Regions from separate parts of the Homo sapiens genome. Here region 2 is linked to region 1. Evidence: promoter capture Hi-C in 16 types of primary human blood cells and fetal thymus (Javierre and others, 2016). All regions are on one chromosome and are shown on one strand. Each heading gives the region's core, a stretch centred on a gene start or on the middle of the fragment in contact. The rest is flanking DNA. Distances are from core to core; before and after follow the strand shown.

What was found. Contacts are between HindIII fragments. The CHiCAGO score rates a contact against its expected background, and 5 or more counts as called.
Region 2: a fragment that was not itself captured here is called in contact with the fragment with the promoter of EGOT in region 1 in 1 of 17 cell types (naive B cells); the score reaches 5.7 in naive B cells.

Annotation. Positions count from the first base shown.
Region 1 is chr3:4,749,168-4,754,074 of GRCh38, forward strand. EGOT (eosinophil granule ontogeny transcript) reads right to left here and starts at 2,423. Exons shown (of 2, transcript NR_004428.1): 1 at 1,779-2,423; 2 at 25-843. All of the region lies in intron 44 of ITPR1 (inositol 1,4,5-trisphosphate receptor type 1), which reads left to right. RefSeq lists an enhancer at 476-545. The HindIII fragment of the contact is 1,839 bases long and covers 1,597-3,435 here.
Region 2 is chr3:4,670,489-4,675,395 of GRCh38, forward strand. ITPR1 (inositol 1,4,5-trisphosphate receptor type 1) reads left to right here. Exons shown (of 62, transcript NM_001378452.1): 20 at 241-438; 21 at 2,648-2,899; 22 at 3,714-3,855; 23 at 4,580-4,760. Among named protein-coding and RNA genes, the nearest start is that of EGOT, 79 kb to the right of the region's middle. The HindIII fragment of the contact is 1,227 bases long and covers 1,784-3,010 here.

The DNA.
Region 1 (4,907 bases), core at 1,173-3,672:
CAAAGTAAAAACAAAAGAACAAACTTTTGTTCTGGTCATTTTATGAGTCATCTGAGCACTTGCAGAACCATAATGGCAAATAGCTAATACATGGCACCTTTTCAGTTGCTCACATTGGATACCCAATTCCCTGCCTTCATTTATGCATTATTGTGGTTTTGACCACCTACTGGTTCTGATGAGAGAGGAAATCCCGTAGTAGGAGTGATAGCCAGAGCATCTCTTGCTGAGGTGACCCCCTGAGCTGATTATAGCCCTATGGGGTATTTTGTTTTGCTGATACATAATACATTGAAAACACTGTATATAGAATTTTTTGAATGCTTAAGTGGGGCCTCCATATACACTGAGATCATTTTATCCCCCTACCTTCCACTGCACTTCACTGACACTTAACCCCGAAGACATTTGCATTGGAAACTTCGCATTATCTGTTTGAAAGTCCTCTCAGTTCAAGCCACACATTCTAAGACTCAGCAAAAGCTTATTGACACCAAGGGCATTGAATTCACCAGCACCTGTAACGTTTCTTGAAGAATGCTTGCTAGGGAAAAGTTCCCATGGTAACTGTTTTTAAAAGAGTTTTGTAGCATCAACAGGTTAGACAGGAAGTCAAAATCATGGAGCTCAGCAGCATCCCCTATAAGCACGTGCTCCTTTTTAACCACCCCTAACAAAGACACTGAAGCACCCTGTTCATAAGCCCTGATGGGCACTGGAGGGTCTGGCCAGGTTGGGCTGGATTTCAGGGGACCTGATTTGTGTTTCCCTGTGCAGTGCTCGTTTCCATCACCATCTTTAAGGAGGAGGCCTTTTCCATCCACTGGACTCTTACCATCGTGCCTGTTAAGGAACAAAAAGACAACTGCTTAGGCCTGGAGGGTATGTGGAAACCACCAGTTACCTTTGAATATACCTGTGGTGCTCGAACCTCCTTTAGAAAACCCAAGATGCCATTTTAATGATGCTTTGCTCTTGGGTATCAAATTTACTCCTTAATTTACCTCAGGAGATGTTCTAAGAGGAAGCCACAAGATTCCATACCTGCTGTTGTTGTTTTAGAGCTGGTGGATTTTTTTTTTTTTAATCCGCGGAGGAGGACTTGACCCTGTGGGTTCCTAACTTGGATGGCCATGCAGAGCACCCTTAACTTGGAAATCTATATCCTGCTGTTTAAACTTCAAGATGATTCCTATCTGGATTAAAGTCCTCAACCAGCAGGCCGAGGCAAACTCTAAAGAAAAACAAGGTCATGCTGCATTTTTTTTTGGTAAGCACAGGAATCAACAAAGAGATGTTATATAACTTCTATTTATATCCTCCTTGCTCACTATCTGCAGGCAGACAAGAGTCGCTGAGAAGGGATTTAATGAGCTCTCTGGGTTTGCTCACCTTCCTGAGCTGGTAGGAACCAGCTTGTTCTCAAATGCGTCAGTAAAGAATCTGGCTGTGGGTGGGCGGCCAGGGTAGGTGGACTGCGTTGTTGCTATGGTGTTTTTTAATTCCCCTGTCTCTCAAAGATCTCACTCCCCCCTTCCCTGACTCCTTCCTTTTGCCCCCTTCCTTTCTTTCTTTCTTTTTTTTTTTAAATCTGTAAGCTTCCTTGTTTCTCACACCTACTCATGATTCTTGGAGCTGTCTCCGGAAACAGAATATTTTCCCTCTCCTTCCTAAGTGCTCAGCTCCCCCATTGTGTAGCCCCGGGACATCAGAAGTTGTTTTCTAAGGTGTGTTTTTTCCACCCTCCCTTATTTCTTTTCCCATGATTTTTTTATTACCAATCCCTCCATGAGAGAGACCTATCCTAGGAGTCTTCCATCTTGCCTGATAGAAGTTTTCTCTGGCATATTCCAAATTCAGATTGCTCCAAAACCAGGTGAAGTCTGTTGCTAGTTGGACAGTCGGTATGGCCTGGAGGAGAAGGGCTGTTTGTATTTCCATGCATCCTCCTTTGTCCTCTTGCCCTGGGTGAAGCAATGACGTCTCTGTCTCCTCTAGTGCGTTATAAAATAGAACCGCAAGAAAACAAGAGAATGGGTTTACCCCACAATCATAATTCCTGGAGCTTGGGTAACTCCTGTTACCTGAAGGTTGCAGGTTGAAATGACTCAGCTTGCATTTAATTAAAAAAAAAAATGCTGCCCCATCAGATTCTCAGCAGGGACGACGAATGCACCTTGCTGAGAACCCTATGGCTGCCCAGGGAGTGGCCCCCTGCACCCTGGCCGGCCTGGTGGTGGCCACAGAGGCTTCTGAGATGGCTCTGTGTTGTCCATCACATTCCCACCAGAGCAGAGACACTTAGAAGATGTGAGTAGGGAGGTTAGGATGAAAAGTTCTTAGAAAAGAATATGTAGTTCCATGAGGACAGGCTGAAAAAATTTTTAAAAAGCCAAACCCACCTCTGCCTTGCCCAGAAGTTGTGCAATCCTTAATAGCAGTAGCCTGTTTGAATAATCAGAGGCAAGCTGACTTCCCTTTATTAACTTCTGTTAGAGACATCTGCATAAAATATCCCCGGATTCCAGACCAAGTAGGTAATTTTTTTTTCCCCTCTGAGTAACGGGAGGGACTTTCCCTTTGGAAATCTTCCAGCAGAGTTAACTTCATGGTTGAGACTGTTTTCTCATTATAAGGTGCCAACAGCTAGATTCCTGATGCAGGGACAGTGAAGGCGCCTCATGTACACACTTGGATCCCCTGCTTCCCTGAGAACTGACTTGATGTTCACAGTTGCCTCTGGTTCTTCTGCCTTGACCCTCCTTTTCACGGAGAAATCTATGCCCGCTCACATTTCCTGAGGTCCTCTGAGTTCCTCTTTGAAACTGTCAGAGGCTCTCTCAAAGTTTCTACCAATTTCCTATTCCTGGGTTTTAGACTTTTGATCAAGATGGCTCTGACACTGAAGGGGATAGTCCTGTAAACCCTCTGAAGTCTTCAAGCCTCGTTTTTCCCCTGGAATTCAGGACTTTAAAAATATATATATTTTATTGCTCTTCGAGGAGGATGTGTTGCAGTTGCCCTCACCATATGGTATTTGAGAAATATGTTTTTATTAGCCTCCTTGCAACACAAACCCACAAACTGTTGAGCCCAGAGCTTGTAGCTATCAAGTCTGGGGAGGGAGCCAGGTTTGGAGACGGAAGGTGCACAAATGATCATCCCTCCCGGGCTGTAGTTAATCATGCAAGCTGCTGTGTCACTGGGGCCGGGGTAGTTAACAGTTAACTCGATGGATTAAGGATCCTCAGCCAGGCTGAGCCCATCACAGAGTTACGTGCAAAAACCGGATAAGCCCGTAGAGGTGACAACACCACATCAGCTGCCTTTGGCTGGTCTGCGGTGTGCTGCATATTCCCACTTAGCAGGACTTTGAGCTTTCACATGCAGGCTTCTTCTGGCCATAAAGTTATACTTCAGCTGCCATGGATGCAAAGCTTGGCTTGAGTGTTTCGGAATTGCACCTCCTTCAGGATTATTGTTCATTCATTAATATAGTAAATTTTTTAAAAAGAGAGAAGAGGCCTTACTGTGTTGACCAAGCTGGCCTTGAACTCCTGGGCTGAAGAGATCTTTCTGTCTCAGCCTCCGGAGTAGCTAGAACTACTGGCTTGTGTCACCACAGCCGGCTTAATATAGCAGATGTTTACTTACTGAGCACTCCCTGGGTGTCAGGTGCTATACACATTGGCGTCAATACAGTCAGGGATGAGACCAACATAGCCCCTGCCCTCCAGGAGCTTACAGTCTTGTGGGAGACAGAGCTAGGAAATCAGCTCATCATCAGCTAAATCAGAGCTTCAGAGAAGTGTGATGGGGAAGCAAACAGGCGCCACGAAGCGTGGCCAGGGAGGGCTTCTCTGGGGAGATACCGTTCAAGCTGAGACCCAACAGATGCGAAGAGAAGGAGCTGTGTGAAGAGTAGCAGAGGGCAAGAGTATTTCAGAAGAGGGTTGGCTTGTGCTTGGGATGTTGGAGGAGCTGAGTGAAGGAAGCTAACGCGGTCTACCCCATGGTGGTCGGTCAGGGGCAGAGCTGCGGAAAGTATCTGCTCCACCAGGGTGATGGGCTTGTCATCAAGTCGGGGCTGGATGAGGTGATCTCTGTGGTTCCCGCCGATCCCTAGTCGGTGCTTCTAAAGGGCACCAAGTTGGCTTGGGCCTGTCCCCTGCTTGGATATGCGCTGCCGCCGCCAAAGCCCTAATATACAAAGCAGCTTTACCCAGATGAGTGCTGTGTGATTTCACCCTGCCCTGCTCTAACCGCTTGGCCATCTGTACATCTTACTGTCAGCTGCCAGGGATGCTCTCTGTGGCCGTGTGGAAGTTACCTGGTGGGCCAGCACACAGCAAGATGGGGATGCAGGGTGGGGAGACATGAAGAGTCCCAGAGCATTCTGCTGGGGACCAGACTCGGCTGTACCCGAGAGTCAGTTGAGTTGGGAAGGACTAGGGTTGACTGGGGGTGACTGCAGTCTTCATCAAGGAGGCACTTGCTTTGCTTGATGCTTTGCCACCTAAGCCAGTGTCCTTGCCTCCATCCGGCCTGAGTGGATTTATTTTTTTCGGCTTCTATGGCCAAGTGTCCTTGTCACAGTTTGTGTGGAGAGCAGCGAAGGGAACGTGGCTGGTGTAGACACCCTGCCGGTACTGTGCGGGCTCTCACCTGTTTTCTCTCCTGCACTCCTTGCAATAGAATCTCAAGTGGTTCTCCTCCTCTTTCTCCATTGCAGATGAGGGAACTGAGGATGGAAGTTAATAAATGAGCTGTCCAAACCCACCCAGTTCCTAAGTCACCCCTATGCGTATGTTTCTACCTTGCTAAAGATGCAGGATAGAGATCGCTTTCACTGAGCCGTGTGACTGCACAAACACAGAAAATGGGGGGGGGGTGGCAAGGATTATTCT
Region 2 (4,907 bases), core at 1,147-3,646, 79 kb before region 1:
TGACAACCAAAAACCTGTCCAGAGACATTGCCTGGTGTCCACTGGGGGCAGCAGCACCATAGTCGAGAACCACTGGGTTACAGTATATGAAGATGTTAATGTCAGGCTCTCTGCGGCTCTGCCCTTGGGGGAAATACAAAACAAAAAGTGTCTTTCCATGTGTCTTTATGCTGAAAGTAAAGCTAGATCTCAAAGTATTTTTAAAAATAGTAACTTTTCCCTCCTCCTCTTGTTTTCTAGGTTGGTTCTTTCTCGTTTTGAATTTGAAGGTGTCTCTTCCACTGGAGAGAATGCTCTGGAGGCAGGAGAAGACGAGGAAGAGGTGTGGCTGTTTTGGAGGGACAGCAACAAAGAGATTCGCAGCAAGAGTGTGAGGGAATTGGCTCAGGATGCTAAAGAAGGGCAGAAGGAGGACCGAGACGTTCTCAGCTACTACAGGTGCGTGGGACACGTGTGGGGCTCAGATTGGGGTGCCCCAAAACAGTGGCACTTAGGAATTTGTTGCTCGTTTGTTGATTACTTCAAGGAATCACAAGGAGTCATCTTGTAAGATTGTCTAGAAAAAAGCCAGATGTGTGTTTTAGGAGTTTGGAGTGTAAGATTTCAGTTAGTTGACATCTGGATGTGGCTGGTTCCCAAAAAGGATGAGTGCTTGCCTCAGTCCCTGGTGATAGTTTATCCTTCAGCAGCATGGCCCATAGATATGGTGGTAGGTACGTAAGAGGCAGGCTGTGGGGTCACATCCCTACCTCTCCGCTTACCAGTTTTTTGACATTGGCCAAGTTTGATTTTATGCTCTAATTTCTTTATCTGCAAAATGAAGGTGATAGTGCCAATCTCACCAAATGTTTATAGACAGAGACAGAAGATGTGTGTGTTTGTATACACATATATCTACACATTCATCCATGTATCTTTCTATAACTACACAAATATATAATAAAAAGCATGTACTTACACTAATACTTCCAATTCCATTCCAACACCATAGGATTTATTCTAGCCTTCACCTTTTCCATTTCATGACTCCCTCCAGCTGCCACGATTCCCTGTATGTTTACCCATCTGCCCGTTTCCCTGTGTGTACCTGTCTCACCTCTGCCACCCACCTCCACGGTCCCCAGTGTCTCCTTGGCTCCAGCTGTAAGACCTGCCAGTCCTGCCACCTGAAGGGAAGGGAAGGGGAAGAAAGAAAGGAAGTGAACCAATTAATACTTTTAAAAGAAAAGGAAAGGGAAGATAAAGCAAGGCTTTTATTATTTTTTAATAAAATAAATAAAACTGCAGATAAAATGCCTTTTCTTGCCTCCTGTATTCTGTTCTTTCATTCATGTGTGATGTACGCATCCTATCCACATTCTCTGTGTGCTGCATTTGTATGCATCTGTAAATCATATGTAGTATTTTATCTCTACTTAAAATTTTATATAAATGGGACTGTACTCCAAATACCATTCTAAAACTTGCCTTATTTATTCAATACGGGTACTGAAGCCATATTGAATATATCTGCGTTAATAGAGATTAATCCATTTCTGTAATTTGGACTGTTGGATGATATTCTGTTTTATTGATTTATCACATTTTCATCGCTGTTTGATATTTGATCACATGCTGCAGTTCTTCATGTCAGGAAACATCTTCATTCAAATTTTTCTGAGTATATGTATGAATTTCCATTCCACACTGGGAGGTGGGCTTGGAGGATATTCATATTTTAAGCTTTACTAAGCAATTCTAAATTGGATGTGTCAGTGTACACACCCACCAGTTGTAGACGACAAGCTTTGTTTCTTCATGTCTTTGTTAACCTTGAATATCATGATGCTTTTTAATTTTTGGTAATTTTATAAGTGTGAAATAGACTCATGTCTACACTTGCATTTCCCCGACATCTAATGAGGCTGAGAATGTCTTCAAATCATGATTATTAGAAATACATAGAGTTTTTAATTCAGAAGGCAGTATTTTGAAAGCCTGTGGCTTTCTCGTTATTTCACATTTCAAGTATGTTTACTCTTTCAGTGTTTGATGAATCTTCTCCCAAGTGAATGAGAAAGAGTGCCTTAATTGGTCAGGTTCCAGTTAACAACATTCACTTGCAATTGGATGAAGATGAAAAGTGAGGAGTCTCCTACTTTTGTAAATGAAATGTTTTTTTACACGTGTAGGAATTAGAGTGACTTACATGATATAAGATCTTTAAAATGTTATAAAATTTCTAATTAGGCTGAATATGTGTGATATCTTGAACATTTCCTACATGGTCTTTACTGTATAAAACACAGCTGAAGGGAAAGAAATAGACAACCATCTTAGGCCTTAGCATTCCCCCCGTTTATTTTAAAAAGTAAACATTAAGGACCTAGTGGAATTAGGTCGTCACATAATTGCTCCAACACAGCTGGATAGACATGTGTTCCTGTTGGCTGTCAACCCACACTCTACTGCACAGCTTGAATAGTTCTTTTATCTGCTTGGTACCAAAGCCAAAATCCTGGTATACAAGAGCAATTTAGGGGTGTTGATGTATGAGTTTAGTTGGCCAAATGTCACTCCCATGACAGTCAGGGCTGCCCAGACGACCCTTCATTCATCCTGAATGATTTCTGGAGCGTGAGCTGTGTGCCCTTGTTCCTTCCTCTAGATATCAGCTGAACCTCTTTGCGAGGATGTGTCTGGACCGCCAATACCTGGCCATCAACGAAATCTCAGGCCAGCTGGATGTCGATCTCATTCTCCGCTGCATGTCTGACGAGAACCTGCCCTATGACCTCAGGGCGTCCTTCTGCCGCCTCATGCTTCACATGCATGTGGACCGAGATCCCCAGGAACAAGTCACCCCCGTGAAATATGCCCGCCTCTGGTCGGAGATTCCCTCGGAGATCGCCATTGACGAGTGAGCCTGGCACCTGAAAACCTCACTTTACATTATTCTGTGCGGCAGTAGATAGCCCCATATGGTCTCATTAAATCTTAGAAGAAAGATGAAGTGTTGGTTTTTTCTTCAAGCTTAAAATAAAATTAAGTGGATGGCAAATATTTTTTTCCTCAAGAATGTGAAAGATGGCATGATTATGTTTTTGGTTTTTGTTTGTTTGTTTGTTTGTTTGAGATGGAGTCTCACTCTGTTGCCCAGGCTGAACTGCAGTGGCGCAATCTCGGCTCACTACAAGCTCTGCCTCCCGGGTTCGTGCCATTCTCCTTCCTCAGCCTCCCAAGTAGCTGGGACTACAGACGCCCACCACCACGCCCGGCTAATTTTTTGTATTTTTAGTAGGGACGGGGTTTCACCGTGTTAGCTAGGACGGTCTCGATCTCCTGACCTTGTGAGCCGTCCACCTCGGCCTCCCAAAGTGCTGGGATTACAGGCGTGAGCCACCGCGCCTGGCCCCGATTGTATTTTTTATATCTCATTTATCTCCTCTTTCATTCTGCAAATATTTAAGTGTGTACTATGTGCCAAGCTCAAGAAATATATCAGTGAACAAACTAGAAAGCAATCTCTATGCTAGTTGGTGGAAGACAGACAATAGGCAAGATAAACGACTCAAATATATAGTTGGTGATATATGCTAAGGAGGGAAAAAATAAAGTAGGGTCAAGGGATGCCAAGGGTTAGGGGATGTTGACTTTTGAAGCTGAGTGACCCAGGAAGACCTCTCTGGGAATAACTTGAAATTTTGTTTCCTTTCTTTCTCCTTTCTTTTCAGCTATGATAGTAGTGGAGCTTCCAAAGATGAAATTAAGGAGAGATTTGCTCAGACCATGGAGTTTGTGGAGGAGTATTTAAGAGATGTGGTTTGTCAGAGGTTCCCTTTCTCTGATAAAGAGAAGAATAAGCTTACGTTTGAGGTAACTCATGATGAAATCTTCTATGTGTATTATCTGCCTCTCAGTGGTCATTTTTCTATGGGGCAAATAGAAAATATGTGAGTAGGTTGTGATTTTGGTCATGATGCTCTGGTTTTGTAATGGAAAGGAATTCAGCTTGGTTTTGTTCCAGAATAAAATAAAACGGATACCAGTCACATGGCTTAATAGTAGTTATGGGCTTAAAAGAAATATACAAGGTGACTTGAACCACATAAAATGATAGAACATCACTTTGTGTTAAAACTGACAAGAGAGAAACACTGTGCTTGCAATCTGCCATAGCTTAATCATTTGCAGAACATAAATCCTTGTTACTTCTGAGTTAACAACGTTTCTGAGACTGCTTTTGCCTTTTAAGAGCTGTATTGCTGAGGATCGCAGAGTGTTATTATCTGTGTCCTTATTGGGAATAACTCTGCTTGCCTGGTGTTAATATTATCCTTGGGAAGCTGTGTAGAGCAAATGATGAGGTCTTTTTTTTTTTTTGATTAGTCATCAGAGCAGATCAGTAGCTTTCCATTTCTTATTTTTCCTCCTTATGAAACAAAATGAAAATTTATCAGAAAGTGCAAGGAAAATACATGCCTTCTCTTACCATAAGGAAGGTCCAAGTCTGTCATTTCTAAACTGGTCAACATCAAATGGAATTGAAGGGGATGCAGTTTATGTAATACCGTCTTCTTCTTTTATTTTAATACAATAGGTTGTAAATTTAGCTAGGAATCTCATATACTTTGGTTTCTACAACTTCTCTGACCTTCTACGATTAACTAAGATCCTTCTGGCCATATTGGACTGTGTACATGTGACAACAATCTTCCCCATTAGCAAGATGGCGAAAGGAGAAGAGAATAAAGGTAACAATGATGTGGAGAAGCTGAAGAGTGAGTATCTGAGGGTGCCCATACATCTGAGAGATGCCCTCCAGCCTTTCCTGTTATGCTCATGTCATACCCTATATGTGATGCCACATCCTTTCTTTGTTCATTCCTTCCCAACTTTTCATCGTGAACATTTTCAAATACTGTGTA